Regions from separate parts of the Homo sapiens genome. Here region 1 is linked to region 2. Evidence: promoter capture Hi-C in 16 types of primary human blood cells and fetal thymus (Javierre and others, 2016). All regions are on one chromosome and are shown on one strand. The core of a region is centred on a gene start or on the middle of the fragment in contact, and the rest is flanking DNA. Distances in the headings are between cores, read along the strand shown. Region 1 has its middle 3.7 kb from the start of OR4K2. Region 2 holds the start of OR4K5 (olfactory receptor family 4 subfamily K member 5).

Region 1 (5,422 bases), core at 2,448-4,947, 48 kb before region 2:
CTATCAAAGGACATGGAGATCAGCAGTACAATCTCAGCACCCCCTAAGAGATGTAGGAAGAACATCTGGGTCATGCAGCCTTCAAAAGAGATGGCTTTGTGTTCTCTAAGGAAGTCTGCAATCATTTTGGGGGTGGCAAATGAGGCCAGGGACATGTCAATGAAGGAGAGATTGCCCAGCAGAAAGTACATAGGGGAATGAAGGTGTGGCTCTGATGCAATGGTGACCACAATAAGAAGGTTCCCCAGCACAGTGGCTGCATAGACTATGGAGAAAAACAGGAAGTAGAAAATCTGGAGTTCTAAAGAACTGGACAGACCCCGTAGTATGAATTCGGTTACCGCAGACTGATTGCTCCAGGCCATTTGCTCTGATTTCTGGAAGGACTCTAGCATTTCCAGTTGGGAGGAGAACTAGGAAAAAATATAGCAATCAAACTCAAAGTGGGATTTTTGCACAGACTAATTTAGTGGCAGCCTACCATCAGATAGTTCCCTATTGTCTCTTTTCCAGACTCACAGTGGCCAAAAATTTTTCCCAATGGCCTTCCTAGATATTTCAAATGATTCAATTACATATTATTTTTTATGACTTAGCAATTTGTTTTACAAGTAAAATACAAATATTCATAAAAGAAGTAAAAATTAATGGTTTCAAATATTTACTCCTCAGTTTGTGAAATACTTTTTAAATTTCACAGCTTGCTGACAGCAGCCTTTTGTAAGAAAAGGGAGTAAAAACCTTTTTCAAACATCATGAAGGGTGAAAGACGGAGGAGGAATATTTGAGGATCAAAGCTTATTATTAGTGGGAAGGATATGGGCACTGGTCTCTTGCAGTGGCTAGGAAAAAGGAATCAAACATGAGGGAAGGAGGATGGCTACAGAGAAACATCATCTGTTTCAATTTTCCAGTGGAGATTGTCTAGAATAAAAGTGAAATGGCTGGGCTCGGTGGCTCACACCTGTAATCCCAGCACTTTGGGAGGTCGAGGTGTGCAGATCACGAGGTCAGTAGTTCGAGACGAGCCTGACCAACATGGCGAAACCCTGTCTCTACTAAAAATACAAAAATTAGCTGGGCAGGGTGACATGCGCCTGTAATCCCAGCTACTCAGGAGGCTGAGGTAGGAGAATCGCTTGAACCCGGGAGGCAGAGGATGCAGTGAGCCAAGATCGTGCCACTGCACTCCAGCCTGGTGACAGAGTGAGACTCTGCCTCAAAAAAAAAAAAAAAAAAAAAAGTGAAATCACCTCTAATTATTTGTCCTTTATTTTAGTTATGCAGATATTATGAATGACACTTGATGTATGTCACCAATGCCATACATTTTTCAGAGGCTAATGAACATGTTCTGGTTAAAGCCTGAAGTACTCATACATTTCTAAGTACATTTTAAATAGAAAGACTGTTAAATACCATGCTGCCAGAAGCCAGGCAATTTTTAAATGCTAGAAATTATTGATTTCACAGAAGCTGTTTGAAACAAAAAACACTCTTCCTGTTTCCAGAGTTTACATGGAGCAACTGTTGAGACAAGTTTACATCAGACAGAAGAGAGTAATGAATTTATAAGTTATGTAATATAACGCACCTCAAAAGTTGTAACTTGGCTGATTAAGGAAATCTCTGTCTCACTGAGATCTGAGATTTACAAAGTGCACTGAAAGCCAATTGAAATGATGTGTACTCAAAATTCATAACAAAACTTTTTCATCTTTCTACTAATCCAAGCATTTGTTTTTCTTTTCTTCTCAAACCTCTGTTACAACTATATATTCTAAACAAATTGTTCTAAGACCAAACCCAATTTACTCATTCAACTACCTATTGTTCTTTCGCTTTCTATTAAAAATGCTGTGGCCTTTGAAAAACAAATAAACAAAAAACCTTCACATTGTTCTTCTAGCTTTACCCATCCCAGAAACTTTTAAATTTCTTTTGTACTCACCTACCTGATTTTTAAATAGAAGTCTCTAGCACAGCACTCATTTAAATTGGTGTACCAGAAATAACAGTGACCTGAGAGTCAGAAAATGGGAATTGAAATCTTGTCCTAGGAGTGTGGGATCAAGTAATTTACTGAGTCAACCGATGCTTCCAAGTCTTCATATGTAAAATAGGGGTGTTGATCTAGATAATTTTAAGATCCTTTCCACACATGTAATATAATAACCAACTCCTGAAAGCAGGGACAACTGCGTCACAGTGAAGTTAGGTGAATCCCTTGCCTAATTTCTGGGGAAAGGAGGCTCACAGTCCTTGAGACCTTTGTATTTATGACAGTTGTATTGATATGAAATAATTTTGTGAATTACATGGCAAGAAAAAGACCAGCTGCTGCTTGGGGAATAAACAAATGTTCAAGTTGCAGTGGGAGTTATTAAAACTTTCTAGTTGGTTTGGCCATATTTAAAGGTGAATTACAGAATGCATGATTGCTCGTAAATGTTTCATGTACAGGACATGGATGTGATTGGCTGGGAAAATATAAAGAATAACGCGTATCTTGGACCACAGCAAAGACAAGACAAATAGTATCTATTATTTGACTTATGAGACTACAAGTGTTATCTCCCAGTTCCTCCATTAACAAATGAGTATAAGGCCTGTGTATCCCCATTTGGAAAAAAACTGATACAGAAAATAATAAAATGAATGTTCGAGAATTTAAATTTTGTACTATTCACTTGAATCATTATGGAGTAATGGAAGAAAAAAGTGAAAAGTGAAAAAATTCTGGTTTATAAATTCTAACTATGTAAAGAATGTGAAGTAATCATCAAAATTTTAATATCTGCTAAAAATCAGAATAACAATCAATAAAATTTAAATGCCACCCATACTTAAATATTTCTCTATTAACAAGAAAGTTTTGACTATATTTCACAGAGCTTGTATTCATAAGATGAAAAGAAATAACTTGATGAAACTGCATTATATGCCTCTAGTGTAATATAAAGAACATTGAATCTCAGATTTGGAGGCCTGAGTTTACATCACAGTACAAGACTTTATTATATTATACTGAGTACATCACCACATTATCATAAATCTCAATCTCCTCATTTGCACTGAGAGATAAAAAAACAAAGCACTGGTATATCAGTACATAAAAAGCTATTAAATTAGACAATAAAAAGACCAAGAACCCTGCATAAAATGGGAAAAAAGCGCAAATAGCTATTTTCTATAGAAAAGATGCTCAAACTCTTTTTTATATGAACATATGTTGAAATTCATTGAGATACCACATATCAACTATCATATGGTAAATGTTTCTATCAGGCAGCAAAATTCTAGCAGCTTGAACACCTGCTCTAGATGACACTACAGTGAGGTAATGCCAGAAGGAATATAAAATAATAAAATCCCATGGAGGAACATTTAAATATATTAAATATACACATATATATTTAAATAGGTATATATATGTGTGTGTGTGTGTGTGTATATATATATAAATACACATATATATACCTATCTATATATATACACATATATATACCTATTTATATATATATACATATATATACCTATTTATATATATATACACATATATATACCTATTTATATATATATACACATATATATACCTATTTATATATATATACACATATATATACCTATTTATATATATATACACATATATATACCTATTTATATATATATACACATATATATACCTATTTATATATATATATACACATATATATACCTATTTATATATATATACACATATATATACCTATTTATATATATATATACACATATATATACCTATTTATATATATATACACATATATATACCTATTTATATATATATACACATATATATACCTATTTATATATATATACACATATATATACCTATTTATATATATATACACATATATATACCTATTTTTATATATATACACATATATATACCTATTTATATATATATATATATATATATATTTACCTCTAAGGAGAGGGAGATGATAGGGGACAATAGGATTGACATGTTGGAATGTCAGGGATAAAATCAAAACATCTCTGATTTTATCTACATTGTTAGTTTTGACTTAGGTTAAGAAATAGAGTTCAACTTAGAAAGCAGAGCTACCATGCACTGTAGGATAAGGCATTTACCATAGGAATTAGACCTTAAACAATTCTGGAAGGACTTAGGAAAGCAAAGACATGAAACAGGGAGCTGCAGAATCAGAGGCAGCAATAGCCAGTCAATCGAGAAACCAAGCCCATCTAGCCAATGAAGTAGAGGTCATGAAAGGAGCAAAATTTAGAAAATTTTGCTGGTAGAAAAATTTTTGTTCAGTTGCTGCTTCTGAGGATCTGCAGGCAGGCAGCCTGAGGCTTCTGTTGATCCTCCAATTCAGAAGTTGGGAAAAAGGTGGACGCAGAGTGAAGTGGCTGAGAACAAAACAAGCTAGAAGCTGTTGGCACCTCTGCATCTGTATAGCCACAAAGATCAGAGAGTAATGGCTGGTGCTTTGGGCTGCTTTTCAAATTCCAAACACATTTATTTTTAGACAACTCCAATACGGAAAGACGTGTAGAAAAGAATTCTGGGAACTGTAGTTCTCAGCTTAACCACTTTGACAATAGAAAGATGTAAGGTGCCACTCTCCGGTCTGTAGGAAAGACTCATGCACTTGCATTATTTACCTGGGAGCTCCGCTGGTACTGGAACTTTCAGAACGGATTTCCTAACATATCTTGTGCCTCACCTGGAGTGTATCAGATGGCTAGGGTCTGGCTGGTACTCCATATTTACATATAATATCTCATCATTCTGTATTCCTCCCGTGTGTGTGTGTGTGTGTGTGTGTGTGTGTGTGCGCGCGCGCGCGCGCGCACATGTGTGTCTATCTCTCAATGTTTCTTTGTATTTATTCTATTTATCCTAAGACCCTGATGAGTTAAAAAATAAAATATATAAACAGTGCTGGAGTCACGCATTGACTTTTAAAACTTCTGCTCATGTGTGGCATATGATACTTCTAGTCACATTACATTGAACAAAGTCATGTATCCAAGGTTCTGGTAGATAAAGTGAGGGTTATACTCCTTCCACAGCATGTGAAGGTCCCTGAAGGGATGAGCCATATACAAAAAGGTAATCAATTTTGATTTTCTAAAATTCAGTCGGCTGGGTATGGTGGCTCACTGTTCATCCCAGCACTTTGCGAGGTGGAGGTGGGCTGATCACTTGAGGTCAGGAGTTCGAGACCAGCCTGGCCAACACGGTGAAACCCCGCCTCTACTGAAAATATAATTAGCAGGGCATGGTGGCACATGCCTGTAATCTCAGCTACTCTGGAGGCTGAGACAGGAGAATCGCTTCAACCAGGTGGCGGAGGTTGCTGTGAGCCAAGATTGTACCATTGCACTCCTGGCTGGGTGACAAGAGTGAAAC
Region 2 (4,861 bases), core at 1,109-3,608:
TGAATGCCTCATAGCAGGTGAAAAGATTAGAATCATGAGCATATATTGAGGGAATTTCCAGTTGTAACATAGTGTCAATGGCATGAGTTTTATATTCAGATCTGAAACAGGATGTTGTAATGTGGCAAGACCTGGCCTTGGAGTCAAATACCAGGGTTCAGATTCTAGTTTAATGGCTCTCCAGCTATGGAACTTCAGGGAAACTGCTTATCATCTCCGTATCTCTGACTTCTTATTGTAAGATAGAATTAGTAAGTGCATTTACCATGCAGTGTTATGGGAAGATTCAATTACTATACATTAAGAGCTCAGAACAGTGCCTAACACTTTGATGCTTAGTAAATGTTAAATATTATTTTTATTATCTGATTTCAAATCCCCACTGAGATGTTCTGACCCTTACTAGATGTCTGACCACAGATTAGTAAACATGTCTAATCTTTGTTTTTCTCTTCTGCAGTTTAGTAACCCCTTTTCCAAAGGTCTGTTGTAAAGATCACCTGATAAAACATGTATACACAGTAGATGCTATCTAGCAGCGTCTGAACAAATGCAAGCTCTCTTTGCCCTTCATTTGTAAATTTTAAAATTATGATTCATCATTCACTATATTTAAATCTGCCTCAATTTTTAGCTTAATACATTACATTCATACAATAAACATTTTCGTTAGGTAGAGTTAATCATTTTATGTAATAAATACATGAACTTGAGCAAGGACACTTTTATTTTAGAAATGGGGGAACAAAATGAGTCACACATGGCATAAAGTGATTACATCATATTTCAGAATCCTCTTAGTTATTGCCTTCTTGTATATTATAGACACTGATTTGTTGTTACTAATGCTTTAAACAATTATAATGAGTCATCTTTTTGTTTGCCGTAGTTCCAGAGTTTACAATAATGTATATCCAAAATGTGGCCCAGTGGAATGCTTCTCTGAACCTTCTTCCAATAGAGTACACAATATGATTGTTTACTGTGGGGCTTCCCGGTGTGGATTGCAACTGCATTCATCTAAATGAGAGACTAGGTCTGTAGCCTAGAGACAAAGGAAAGACTCTGGCTTCTTGTATGAAATAAATTAGCAGAAAAAGATGTTCATGTTCTCACATGGGACTAGAATTAGATCATTACTCTCTCAGGCCTCTTACTATGACTGTTGTCAACAGTTAATTGTCAGAACTAATATGGTTTCCTAAAACAGCACTTCTTTAAAGTTTTTCCAGTTCAACTGAACTAGATTTATACAGTAGGGGTATGTCTTTACAGGGTGAAAAACATACGATGCAAATTTTTAGATATTTTCAAGAGCATGAGAGGTTTATAATCATTTTTACTTCTCTATCCAGAAATTTTTTTTAAACTTCATTTTCCAGCATTAATTATAAAGATGTTTTAAGAAGATCATGGAGAACTCTAGCAGGGAGAATGTAAGTGGGCTGAAATCTAATTCTGATAGGCAAAGAAAATGAAAAATTTAGGTTCCACTCTTGGATAATCAACAGAAAATAGGATTTAGATAATTCAGGTAAGCCATAATATGTGTTTTAAGAAATTATTGGATAACTAATTGACAAACTCAGTTGGAACTATAGGCCAGTATAATATACATTCAATAGTATCTGTTTAGCAGGAATTGCCTAATTGTAAATGACTCCTGCAGGAGCACGAAGGTAAATTTCTATTAATATAGGGTGTTTAATGTATTAAGATCATATGTTGCAATACAATTACTTTGATGGTAGAATGTCATGAGTTATTCTGCTTAAACTCTAAAGTTTTCTGTAAAGTAGGTATTTTTATACCTCCCATCTTTTTTAAGGTGTGGAATTAAAGCTCAGATAAAATAATTGGCCAAAAGTTAATCTGTGTGACTTTACATCATGTAATAATAATCAAGCCATGAATATCTCTTCAAAAGTTAAGAATGTTGTATAATTGATGATGTAAGATGACCACAAGACAAGCAAATGTAAACACTTTTTGTCAACCTATGAGGCTTGTGGAGCTGGACTCTAGGTCACTCCTCTAGTCTTGTTGTCATGAGTCAGCTCCTGGGTAAGCTCATTTCCTACTGTATAAAAGACAAGGACTATCCAAAAACTCAAGGGGTTCTAATTATACTGATTAAATTATTAAGCATTATTTAGACATTTACATAAGTTCTTTCCTATTATCCACCTATCCAGACATACTATTATGGCCTCTTCAAAATTTTTGCATTCAGCAAATGCACATTATATCTGAGATCTCAGAATCCCTCACCTTAAAAGTATTCTTAATTCAAATTCTGATTCCTTTCTATTTATCCTCCTTTAGAGTTGTTTCAGAACAAGTTTGCAGCTTGGAACCATGGATAAGTCCAATTCTTCAGTGGTGTCTGAATTTGTACTGTTGGGACTCTGTAGTTCTCAAAAACTCCAGCTTTTCTATTTTTGTTTCTTCTCTGTGTTGTATACAGTCATTGTGCTGGGAAATCTTCTCATTATCCTCACAGTGACTTCTGATACCAGCCTGCACTCCCCTATGTACTTTCTCTTGGGAAACCTTTCCTTTGTTGACATTTGTCAGGCTTCTTTTGCTACCCCTAAAATGATTGCAGATTTTCTGAGTGCACACGAGACCATATCTTTCAGTGGCTGCATAGCCCAAATTTTCTTTATTCACCTTTTTACTGGAGGGGAGATGGTGCTACTTGTTTCGATGGCCTATGACAGGTATGTAGCCATATGCAAACCCTTATACTATGTGGTCATCATGAGCCGAAGGACATGCACTGTCTTGGTAATGATCTCCTGGGCTGTGAGCTTGGTGCACACATTAAGCCAGTTATCATTTACTGTGAACCTGCCTTTTTGTGGACCTAATGTAGTAGACAGCTTTTTTTGTGATCTTCCTCGAGTCACCAAACTTGCCTGCCTGGACTCTTACATCATTGAAATACTAATTGTGGTCAATAGTGGAATTCTTTCCCTAAGCACTTTCTCTCTCTTGGTCAGCTCCTACATCATTATTCTTGTTACAGTTTGGCTCAAGTCTTCAGCTGCAATGGCAAAGGCATTTTCTACGCTGGCTTCCCATATTGCAGTAGTAATATTATTCTTTGGACCTTGCATCTTCATCTATGTGTGGCCCTTTACCATCTCTCCTTTGGATAAATTTCTTGCCATATTTTACACTGTTTTCACCCCCGTCCTAAACCCCATTATTTATACACTAAGGAATAGGGATATGAAGGCTGCCGTAAGGAAAATTGTGAACCATTACCTGAGGCCAAGGAGAATTTCTGAAATGTCACTAGTAGTGAGAACTTCCTTTCATTAAGACAAAACTCCTTCAAATTCCTCAGGTCAATACACTGTTTAATATTTTAATGTATTTTTGTGGTGTATCTCAATTGTGGGGAAAGTAGTGAAGAAGATAATATAGAGAACATTTAATGAATATTAACAAGTCTTTTTCTAGGTATCAAGTGAAAGTTAAATATAAAAACATGGAAAAATCTCTGTTTAGATTACTGGTTCTAGAAATAAAATATGGGCACTAGATGGATAATATGTATGCATTTACTGCTTTTGTTACGGGGTAAATGTAAATATCAAGAAAAAAATCAATGAGAACCTAATTCTCTGGTGGGCATACATTCAAACATTTGTCAGGTTTTAAGAGTTTTCTTAACAACATGCCTAAAACTTCTATGTGGATGAATAGTATTTAAGAATCTGAAACTGAATTTTGCCAACTTCAGGGAATAGCCAAACTACAATTTAATATAACTGCTTAAGTTCAAGTGGAGATTATTAGGTTATGAGACTCCCCCCCCCAAAAATCAATTATGCCTATCCCATACGGTTTTCAAATAGCTAAAATGCTTTAAAATATGGAATGATACATACTCAGAAGCTTCCATTTTAAACCTTTCATTTAAAGGGCTGCCTCTGATTGGCTAGATAATTCCAATTTCCTTTTAGATTATGAGTTGCAGAAAAGAGAGGAGAATCTAGAAAGCTGAACTATTTCAACACCAAGATTTTCGTTTGTGCCACTTCTCTTCTTGTTCCTACAGTGCAGCTGCCAGTGGCTTATGTTCAGGCACCCAGTGGTACTCATCCTCCAGCAAGTTTTATTGCCAGCCTTGGCCTTAAATTCTCTGATCCCCATCTTCACTTCACCTTCTGTGGACTAGATCTGGTCCAGTGCAACCCAGAGAACCTCTCTCCATCTAGGGGGCCTCACTCATATTCTCTCCAAAGAGTTCTGAAACTCAACCTTGGGCAGGGCATCACCCTTCCACATTTATTTCTTCTTTGGTTTCTCTCCTTTAGGCCTATGGTATTTTTTTTTTTCAAAGTAAACTGAAGACGATTCAGATTCAGATTTAATCAGTTTTTACATGTACTCTTTTTTTTTTTACTATTGCTTTATAGTATTATGAAATATCATTGCATAAATAGATTCATGTAGTCACAACAGCCACAATAAGGACATAGACCTCTTCCGTCACTTCAAAGAAACTTTCCTGTGCTGTCTCCCCTGTGATCTTAACCCTGGCAACCAATGATCTGTTCCCCATCACTCTATTTTATTTTTTCATTTCAAGAGTGTTGTAAAATTTATCAGCTGTTCAAATGGCCTTTGTAATAATTTTTAGAAAATTTAATGTGGTTGGATTTGTGAATCATTTTTGGTATCTTTTTTTGTGTGTATGTGTCTGATTTAAGAAATCCTTCTCTCTGTCAAGATCATAAAGACATTATTTAGATTTTCTTCTGTAAATTAAAACATATATTGCTTTTTATACTTAAGAATTTCATCGCTTTGTAACTCATTTTGTACATTTTGGGAGCTAGGCATC

Evidence for each region. Contacts are between HindIII fragments. The CHiCAGO score rates a contact against its expected background, and 5 or more counts as called.
Region 1: a fragment that was not itself captured here is called in contact with the fragment with the promoter of OR4K5 in region 2 in 3 of 17 cell types (neutrophils, fetal thymus and naive B cells); the score reaches 7.9 in neutrophils.

What each region holds. Positions count from the first base shown.
Region 1 is chr14:19,868,779-19,874,200 of GRCh38, forward strand. It overlaps the pseudogene OR4K3. Among named protein-coding and RNA genes, the nearest start is that of OR4K2, 3.7 kb to the right of the region's middle. The HindIII fragment of the contact is 5,805 bases long and covers 796-5,422 here.
Region 2 is chr14:19,918,249-19,923,109 of GRCh38, forward strand. OR4K5 (olfactory receptor family 4 subfamily K member 5) reads left to right here and starts at 2,359. Exons shown (of 1, transcript NM_001005483.1): 1 at 2,359-3,330. The coding sequence starts at 2,359. The coding sequence ends at 3,330. All of the region lies in intron 2 of LOC124903278 (a long non-coding RNA gene), which reads right to left. It also overlaps a transcript of OR4K1 not described here. The HindIII fragment of the contact is 8,373 bases long and covers 1-3,907 here.